Linked DNA regions of Homo sapiens: region 1 is linked to region 2. Evidence: promoter capture Hi-C in human tissues and cell types (Jung and others, 2019). All regions are on one chromosome and are shown on one strand. Each heading gives the region's core, a stretch centred on a gene start or on the middle of the fragment in contact. The rest is flanking DNA. Distances are from core to core; before and after follow the strand shown. Region 1 holds the start of LRRC3 (leucine rich repeat containing 3). Region 2 overlaps TSPEAR (thrombospondin type laminin G domain and EAR repeats).

What was found. Contacts are between HindIII fragments. The study calls those that stand out against the background at their distance.
Region 1: the fragment with the promoter of LRRC3 here is called in contact with a fragment that was not itself captured in region 2 in 1 of the 25 tissues and cell types used here (lymphoblastoid cells).

What each region holds. Positions count from the first base shown.
Region 1 is chr21:44,452,701-44,456,876 of GRCh38, reverse strand. LRRC3 (leucine rich repeat containing 3) reads right to left here and starts at 1,367. Exons shown (of 2, transcript NM_030891.6): 1 at 1,222-1,367; 2 at 1-379. The coding sequence starts at 232. It overlaps LRRC3-DT (LRRC3 divergent transcript), which reads left to right and starts at 1,593. Exons shown (of 4, transcript NR_047476.1): 1 at 1,593-1,633; 2 at 1,825-1,900. RefSeq lists silencers at 1,009-1,438, 1,527-1,706 and an enhancer at 1,870-2,370. The HindIII fragment of the contact is 13,764 bases long and covers 1-3,336 here.
Region 2 is chr21:44,499,895-44,504,118 of GRCh38, reverse strand. TSPEAR (thrombospondin type laminin G domain and EAR repeats) reads left to right here. Exons shown (of 12, transcript NM_144991.3): 12 at 4,183-4,224. Among named protein-coding and RNA genes, the nearest start is that of TSPEAR-AS1, 4.0 kb to the left of the region's middle. RefSeq lists an enhancer at 438-957. The HindIII fragment of the contact is 6,330 bases long and covers 1-4,224 here.

The DNA.
Region 1 (4,176 bases), core at 118-2,617, 47 kb after region 2:
GGGAGATCTTGTTGGCATCGAGCTTCAGGAGCACGGTGTTGGCCGGGATGTCCTCGGGGACCTCCTGAAGGCCCCGCAAGCTGCAGAAGACAGCCACAGCCCCTGCGTGGTCAGGGCACCGGCAGGGCTGTGGGCAGGCGGCGCCCAGGTGCAGGCAGAAGAGGAGGAAGAGACAAGACTCCCGGGTGGAGACCAGCAGGAGCGAGGGGCGAGGTGGGCGCACGGTGCCCATCCTGACCTGACCTGGGGACGGGGACACGCGAGCCTCTGCTAGGGCCTGGGGATGGAGCTGGTTTCCGCAGGCAAGGCCTTATCCAACCAGACATGAAACCGCCATCCTGCCCCGCTGGGAGAAGCAGTGCAGTCCACTCTGGCAGCTCTGAAAGGGAAGACGCAGGAGGGAGCGGAGAGGGAGGGAGGGTGGTCAGCACTGCCGGCTGCGGTCACCTGGGAAACGCGTCCACTGGTGGGGAGGGTGTTGAGGGCCCACTGAAGGGTCTGGGGTGGGGAGCACGCCTCCTTAAACAGCTCTGCCTGTAACTTACTTCTGGAGACTCCCAATGCGCCCGGGAGGAGCGTCCCACAAGTGCAGGGAGCTGGCACTGCCAGGGGGCTCCGCATGGCCCAGTGGGTGGTCACTGCGGCCACCCCTGGCCACCTACAGCACCGCTGGGGACCAAAGGCCGGGCGGCGGAGTGGCGGCGGCTTGGACCACCCAGCCCCTCCCTCCTCAGGGTGGACGCCAGGAGGACGGTGACGGCTGCAGCTTCTCCCGAACCTGGAGCGCGGGTCAAGCTGGGCACGTGGCCGGGCACCAGCGGGCGCTCGCGCGCCAGGGGCTACTCCAGCAGCCAACGCCTGGCTGACTCCGACAACCCCTAAAAACTGTCATAACCCAGCAAGCCCTTCCCTGCCAGCCCTAAAGGAGCCGCGGCTCGCACCGGGCACAGAACCGCGCCTTTTCTTTCAACTGCCTGAAGAAGGAAACCGAGAAAACAGAGAAGCCAAGCCCTGTGCGCGCGGCCCGCGCTGGGCGTGGACGGCGGGGCCGCGCGCGGAGCCGGCCGGGAGAGGCTCGGACCCCCAGGACCTCCAGCCTTTAGACCCTCCGGCCCTAGGACCCCCGGAACCTGGGACCCCCGAGACCCCAGCACTCGCGGCGGGGGGATGGTCATGGGGTGGGTGGGAATCCACGCTCCCAGGGCTGGGCGGGGGCTTTACCTGCGCGGCGGCGGCCGGAGGCTGCTCTGCGCGCCGCTCCCGGGCCTCTCGGAGCCCGCCAGACCCAGCTCCACGCCTGGCGCGGCGGCCACCCCGCTGCCCCTGCGACCGCGCCCGCGACCACTAGCTGGGGAGGCCGCGACTCCGGCCTGCGCGGGCGAGGGGCGGGGTGGGGCGGGGCCTGGAGGGGGCGGGGCGAAAGGCGGAGACAGGCTGTGTCGATTCCCCGCGGGGGCGGGGAAGGGGCGGGGCATGTAAGGAGACCGGAACGGGATTTGTGGTTAGGCGGGGGCGGGGCTTGAGGGCGGGTTCTGCGGCAGGGCGGGGCCTGGAAGAGATGGGGGAGGGGCATGGGAGGGGCATGGGAGGGGCCGGTGGTGCGGCTTTAGATGGAGCTGGTACTAAGACCCAGGTCGCAGGGGCTGTGGGCGGGTTGTGGGAGTAATTGTGGCATGCTGGGGGCGTGGTTGTGGGGCTGAGGACGAGGTGGTGGGGGCTGAGGGCGTGGTTATGGGTGGGGGCGGGGTCTGCGCGCCGGGAGGGGCTGTGGGTCCAGCCCCTGCCCCTCACTCTGGGCAAATCCCCTCTTCCCTCTGGCATCAGGACTTCTGGGGCTTGAAGACCCTGGGTCTGCGGGAAGCCCCTGCTGAGCGTCCCTCGCCTACCCCGTGGCCAGTGGGTGAGTAGGGCTAGATCTCCGCCCATCTAGGTCCCCTTCTGCTCCAGCTCCAGCGTCTGACATCCCAAGGAAGGAACGCAGGGTGGGGGCATTTGAGCCGGACCTGAGCCATCCTCATGGTTTTCAAAAAGTAGCCTTATTGTGGTGTAATTGACAGACGGTAAGCCACATATTTCAATTTGGTACGTTTTAACACTCGGATACTCCTGTGAAACCATCACCACAATCAGCATAGTGAACACCCCGGGTTCCCTCTTGGTCATCTCTCCCTGCCCTCCCTCATCCCCAGGCAAGCACTGATCTGCATTCTGTCACTACTGATTACTTTGCATTTCCTATGATTTGCACAAATGGAATCATATAATATGTACTTTTTGTGTAGCTTCTTTCACTCAGCACAATTATTTTTGAGATTTGCCTGCGTCATTTGGTTTGTCAATGCGTATTTCTTTTACAGCTGCATGGTACTCCAGTGTATGAATGTACCACAGTTTGTGTCCATTCACCTGCTGGTGGGCATTTGGGTTGTTTCTGGTGTTGGCTCTTACAGATAAAGCTGATCCGAACATTGTGCACAAGTCTTTGGATGAATGCTTTTCTTTCTCTTGAATAGATGTCTAGGAGTGGAGTGGCTGGATGCCACGGTAGCCATATGTGAAACTTTTTAAGAAACTGCCAAAGCGATTGTATGGTTTTACATTCCACATCCTCCCCAGCACTTGGTATGGTTTGTCTTTTTAATTTCAAATACTCTAATAGGTGTGTGGTGATAGATGGAACTGTGGTTTTAATTTGCGTTTCCCTGTTGGCCAATGATGTTGAGCATCATTTCATCTGTTTATTCTCCATCTCCTGTAGTAAGCGTTGAGTTCAAATCTTTTACTCACTTTTAATTGGGTTGTTTATTTTCTTATTATTGAGTTTGGGAGTTTGTTGCATATTCTGGATACAAGTCCTTTATCAGATATGTGATCTGTAAATGCTTTCTCCAAGCCTTTGGATTGTGTGTTCATTCTCTTAACAGTTTTTCAAAGAGCAGAATTTTTTAATTTTGAGGAAATCCAATTTATGTTTTTCTTTTATGGATCCTGCTTTTGGTGTCATATATAAGAAATCTTTGCCTCACCCAAAGTCACAAGGGTTTTAGAGTTTTAAAGGTTTGCATTTGGGTCTATTACCTATTTTAAGTTTATTTGGGTTTATAGTATGAGATATGATTCAATGTTTATTTTTTGTGTATGTGGATAATCAGTTTTTTCCAGACTGTTGAAAAGACTATCCTTTCTCTTGTTTGCTGAGAGTCTTTTTAATCAGGAATGAAAGTTGGATTTTGTTTTTTCTGCATCTATTGAGAATCTTTTTGCGTGATGATCTATTAATATGATAGAGTATAATGATTGATTTTAAAGTGTTAAATCAATCTTGTGTTCTTGGGATAAAGCCCACGTGGTCATGATGTATTATCATTTTTATATGTGGTTGAATTATTTAATGGATATACAACTGCTGAGTTTATTTTATTCTTGACTGAATGTATGTAGTTTGTATCGCTCAAGAAATTGCCCATCGCATATAAGTTGTTGAATTTATTAGCATAAAGTTGTTCATAATATTCCTTTATCCTTTCAACATCTGTGAAGTATGAGGTGATGTCATCTTTCTCATTTCTGATACTGGCAATTGTGGCTTTTTTTTTAACTGAACAATCAGATAGCAGTTTATCAATTGTATTGATCTTCTCAAAGAAATAGCTTTTTGGTTTCGTTGATGCACTTTTTTTTCATTGACTTCCACTCTTTATTCTTTCTTTTGCTTGTTTTTTTGTTTGTTTGTTTTTGTTTTTGTTTTTGTTTTTGAGACAGAGTCTTGCCTTGTTGCCCAAGCTGGAGTTCAGTGGGGGCAATCTCGGCTCACTGCAAACTCCATCTTCCGGGTTCAAGTGATTCTCCTGCCTCAGCCTCCTGAGTAGCTGGGATTACAGGCATGTGCCACCATGCCCAGCTAATTTTTGTATATTTTTAGTAGAGATGGGGTTTCACCATGTTGACCAGGCTTGTCTCGAACTCCTGACCTCAGGTTATCCACCCACCTCGGCCTCCCAAAGTGCTGGGATTACAGGCATGAACCACTGCACCCAGCCTCTTTTGCTTACATTGGGTTTGACTTTCTCTTCTTTTTTAGGTCTCTTAAGGTGGAAGCTGGGGTCACTGATCTGTACAAGCATTCAGTACTATAAATTTCCCTCTAAGTCCACCTTTAACTGCATCCCAGAAATT
Region 2 (4,224 bases), core at 792-3,291:
CCAGAGCCTTGCTTCCCCACTGTGGGCTCACCAAGGCCAGCTTCCCCCCAAGGGCTCACCGAGGCCAACTTCCTCCCAGAGCCTTGCTTCCTGCTGAGGGCTCACCGAGGCCGGCTTCCTCCCAGAGCCTTGCTTCCCCGCCGAGGGCTCACCAACTCCGGCCTCCTCCCAGAGCCTTGCTTCCCGCCGAGGGCTCACCGAGGCCAGCTTCCTCCCAGCACATTGCTTCCCCCCTGTGGGCTCACCAAGGCCGGCTTCCCCCCAAGGGCTCACCAAGGCCGGCCTCCTCCCAGCGCCTTGCTTCCCCCCGAGGGCTCACCGAGGCCAGCTTCCTCCCAGAGCCTTGCTTCCCCCCGAGGGCTCACCAACTCCGGCCTCCTCCCAGAGCCTTGCTTCCCGCCGAGGGCTCACCGAGGCCGGCTTCCTCCCAGAGCCTTGCTTCCCCGCTGTGGGCTCACCAAGGCCGGCTTCCCCCCAAGGGCTCACCAAGGCCGGCCTCCTCCCAGCGCCTTGCTTCCCCCTGAGGGCTCACCGAGGCCAGCTTCCTCCCAGCACATTGCTTCCCCACTGTGGGCTCACCAAGGCCGGCTTCCCCCCAAGGGCTCACCAAGGCCGGCCTCCTCCCAGAGCCTTTCTTCCCCCCGAGGGCTCACCGAGGCCGGCTTCCTCCCAGAGCCTTGCTTCCCCCCGAGGGCTCACCAACTCCGGCCTCCTCCCAGAGCCTTGCTTCCCGCCGAGGGCTCACCGAGGCCGGCTTCCTCCCAGAGCCTTGCTTCCCCCCGAGGGCTCACCAAGGCCGGCCTCCTCCCAGAGCCTTGCTTCCCCCCGAGGGCTCACCGAGGCCAGCTTCCTCCCAGCACACTGCTTCCCCCCGTGGGCTCACCAAGGCCGGCCTCCTCCCAGCGCCTTGCTTCCCCCCTGTGGGCTCACCAAGGCCGGCTTCCACCCAAGGGCTCACCGAGGCCGGCCTCCTCCCAGAGCCTTGCTTCCCCCCGAGGACTCACCGAGGCCGGCCTCCTCCCAGAGTCTTGCTTCCCCCTGAGGGCTCACCGAGGCCAGCTTCCTCCCAGAGCCTTGCTTCCCCCCGAGGGCTCACCGAGGCCGGCTTCCTCCCAGCACCTTGCTTCCCCACTGTGGGCTCACCGAGGCCAGCTTCCTCCCAGAGCCTTGCTTCCCCGAGGGCTCACTGAGGCCAGCTTCCTCCCAGCGCCTTACTTCCCCGAGGGCTCACCGAGGCCGGCCTCCTCCCAGAGCCTTGCTTCCCCCCAAGGGCTCACCGAGGCCGGCCTCCTCCCAGAGCCTTGCTTCCCCCCGGGGGCTCACCTTCTCTCGCAGGTGCCACCGGCTCACAGCGAGTCCCAAGTCAGGTGTCATTTCCGAGATTGGCTGGGCCCAGTGGATGGCCCGGCGCTGGCTGCACCCGTGTGGGATCTGAGCTGGGGCCCTGCCCCGGGTGTAGCCACAACCCACGAGTGCTGGTGCTTCTGCCTTTGGATTCTGTCAGGGATGCGGCGTGTGGACATCCTAACATGGGAGTTGTTGATATTTAATTTTTCTCTCATAGACACTGTGGTGTTCTCATTTATTTCCAGGAGTTTTCCAAGTATCGTACGTTTAACGAATGGGGTTGGCTTTTTAACTTTCATTTGCAGCTGCTCATCATGACAATCATTTTCTCGCCCCCTAACCAATCAGTTCTAATAGCTTTTCTTAAAAAGATTCTCAGGGGACTTAGGAATGTAATTACCTCTGAGAATAAAGAACATTTCCCCTTGATTTCTAGTGTTCTAATTGATTATGTAGCTTGCTTCCCTAGCTAAAGATTCCAGAACAATCTTGGATGGCGGCAGAAGTGGCAGCTGTCCCACCTTGCTCTAATTTAACGAGCACATCTGAGCATGGCCGTTTGATGGGCTGTGGGCCATCCGGGCCAGGGCTGAGGTCTCCTTTGGCATCTGTGAGTGCGTGGTGCGGTCCACTATGTTTACTGTTGATGTCATGATTTATAGTGAGACATCTCCTCGCGTTATTAGACCCGATGCCACTTGGTGATGATGCAGAATTATTGAATAAGCCACTGGCTTCCAATTGCCTGTCTTTAAGCTTTTAGCATCTATAATAGGAAATTAGATTGCTCGGTGGTTTTCTTTTGGGGACTTAACTTTATCCAGTTTAAAATGAAGCCTAACAGTAAATACACACTGCAGGGCTTTCTAACTGCACCTGTGGACTGGGATAGTCTGAAGAATAGGATTTTTTCTCTCATTTCTGACAGCTGGGTTAAATTCAGTTATAAAGCCATCTGGGCCTGGGTACCTTTTTAATAATATCTCCTTCTTATTTATTTTTTGGGGGGGACAGGGTCTCACTCTGTAGCCCAGGCTGAAGTGCAGTGGCATAACCTCAGCTCATTGCAGGCTGAAATTCCCAGGCTCAAGCAATCCTCCCACCTCAGCCTCCCTAGTCGCTGGGACCACAGGCATGGGCCAACCATGCCTGGCTAATTTTATTTTTTCTTTTTGGAGATGGAGTCTCGCTTTGTCGCCCAAGCTGGAGTGCAGTGGCCCAGTCTCGGCACACTGCAAGCTCCGCCTCCTGGGTTCACGCCATTCTCTTGCTTCAGCCTCCTGAGTAGCTGGGACTACAGGCACCTGCCACCACACCTGGCTAATTGTTTTGTATTTTTTAGTAGAGATGGGGTTTCACTGTGTTAGCCAGGATGGTCTCGATCTCCTGACCTTGTGATCTGCCCGCCTCGGCCTCCCAAAGTGCTGGGATTACAGGCATGAGCCACTGCGCCTAGCCCATGCCTGGCTAATTTTTGTATTTTTAATAGAGATGGGGTTTCACTATGTTGGCCAGGCTGTTCTCGAACTCCTGACCTCAAGTGATCTGCCCGCCTCAGCCTCCCAAAGTGCTGAGATTATAGGCGTAAGCCACCCCGCCCGGCCATAAATGCTATATTTGAAGGCAATGAGAAAAGGATGGGTTTTACTTGATAACTCCATATGATTCGGGAGATTAGCTTCATGTAATCTGGAAGAAAACAAAGCTTACCCCCACTTCACATTGTACACAAAAATAAATGTTATATGGATTAAAAGTCCAAATGTGAAAAAGAAGAAAAGCTGAAGGCAGTTGTATAACCTCAGGGTTCTATGAAGAAGACAAGCCCAGAAGGAAAGGCACTGGGTCGACCACCTGTGTTAAAAGCTTTCTATGGAAACAGACATCCTATTCAAAAGCAAAAGACAAACTCTTTACCACACACACGACAGAAAACCAACCCTTACAAACTAATAAAAAATGTGTCTTTAAATTTGGAAAAATGGACAAAAGATATAAATATGAATTTTTAGAAGAAAAGATGAACAGTGTGAATAAACATTATAAGGGATTTGTCCTCAAAGCAAAACCCTGCCAGGTTCTCCCCCATTTGTTTGGAAGTGTGTTAAAGATGGGCAGTGGAGTGGGTTGGGGGATCCCAGGGGGACCCCACCCTGCCCTTTCCCGTGAGAGCAGAAGCCACCACGGTTTTTCCAGAAAGCAGTCTGGAAGAATTTATTTTCATACTTTATTATTTAATATTAAATGTAAACAACTCGTGCCCTTTGATGTCGGCGCCCTGCCTTGGGGACTCCACGCCTCGGAAATGGAAGCTCCTGGGATAAATGAGTCCTTTTGAAGGCAAACCCTGGCGGCCAGCAGCCGCCCAGAGCAAGAATGAGGGCCTGGGGCAGCCCCTGACGTGGGGCCGCAGAGCAGCGGGCAGAGAGCTGGGCTCCTGTATCTGAGGACGGAGGGGTTCCAGCCTGCGTGGTGGCCTGCGTGTGTTTGAGGGGGGCCCTGGGGAAAGTCACGCACCTCACGATTGAGGCCGACCCTCGGAACTGCACGTTTGGGGGTCCCCGGGGTTAGGATCTTGGGTGGATAGGAGGTAGCGCTGGGATCTTGGTGAGATCTGGAATCTTTCCTCTTCTGGGCCTCAGCCTCCTGCTTTGCAAGATGAGAAGGCCCTCATGGCCCAGAATCGATCTCCCCACGCTGTGCCAGTCGGGGGGATGGAAGAGGCTCAGATGTGACCCAGAGCTGCTGGGTCCCTGACAGCGCGGGTGGGAGCCGGGGGAGAGGAGCTGCCCCGCAGAGCCCAGGCTGACCCGGCTGCCGCTGTCTGTTCCGCAGGTGGCAGGGCTACGAGGGCTTCGTGGCGGTGCACAGCCTCCC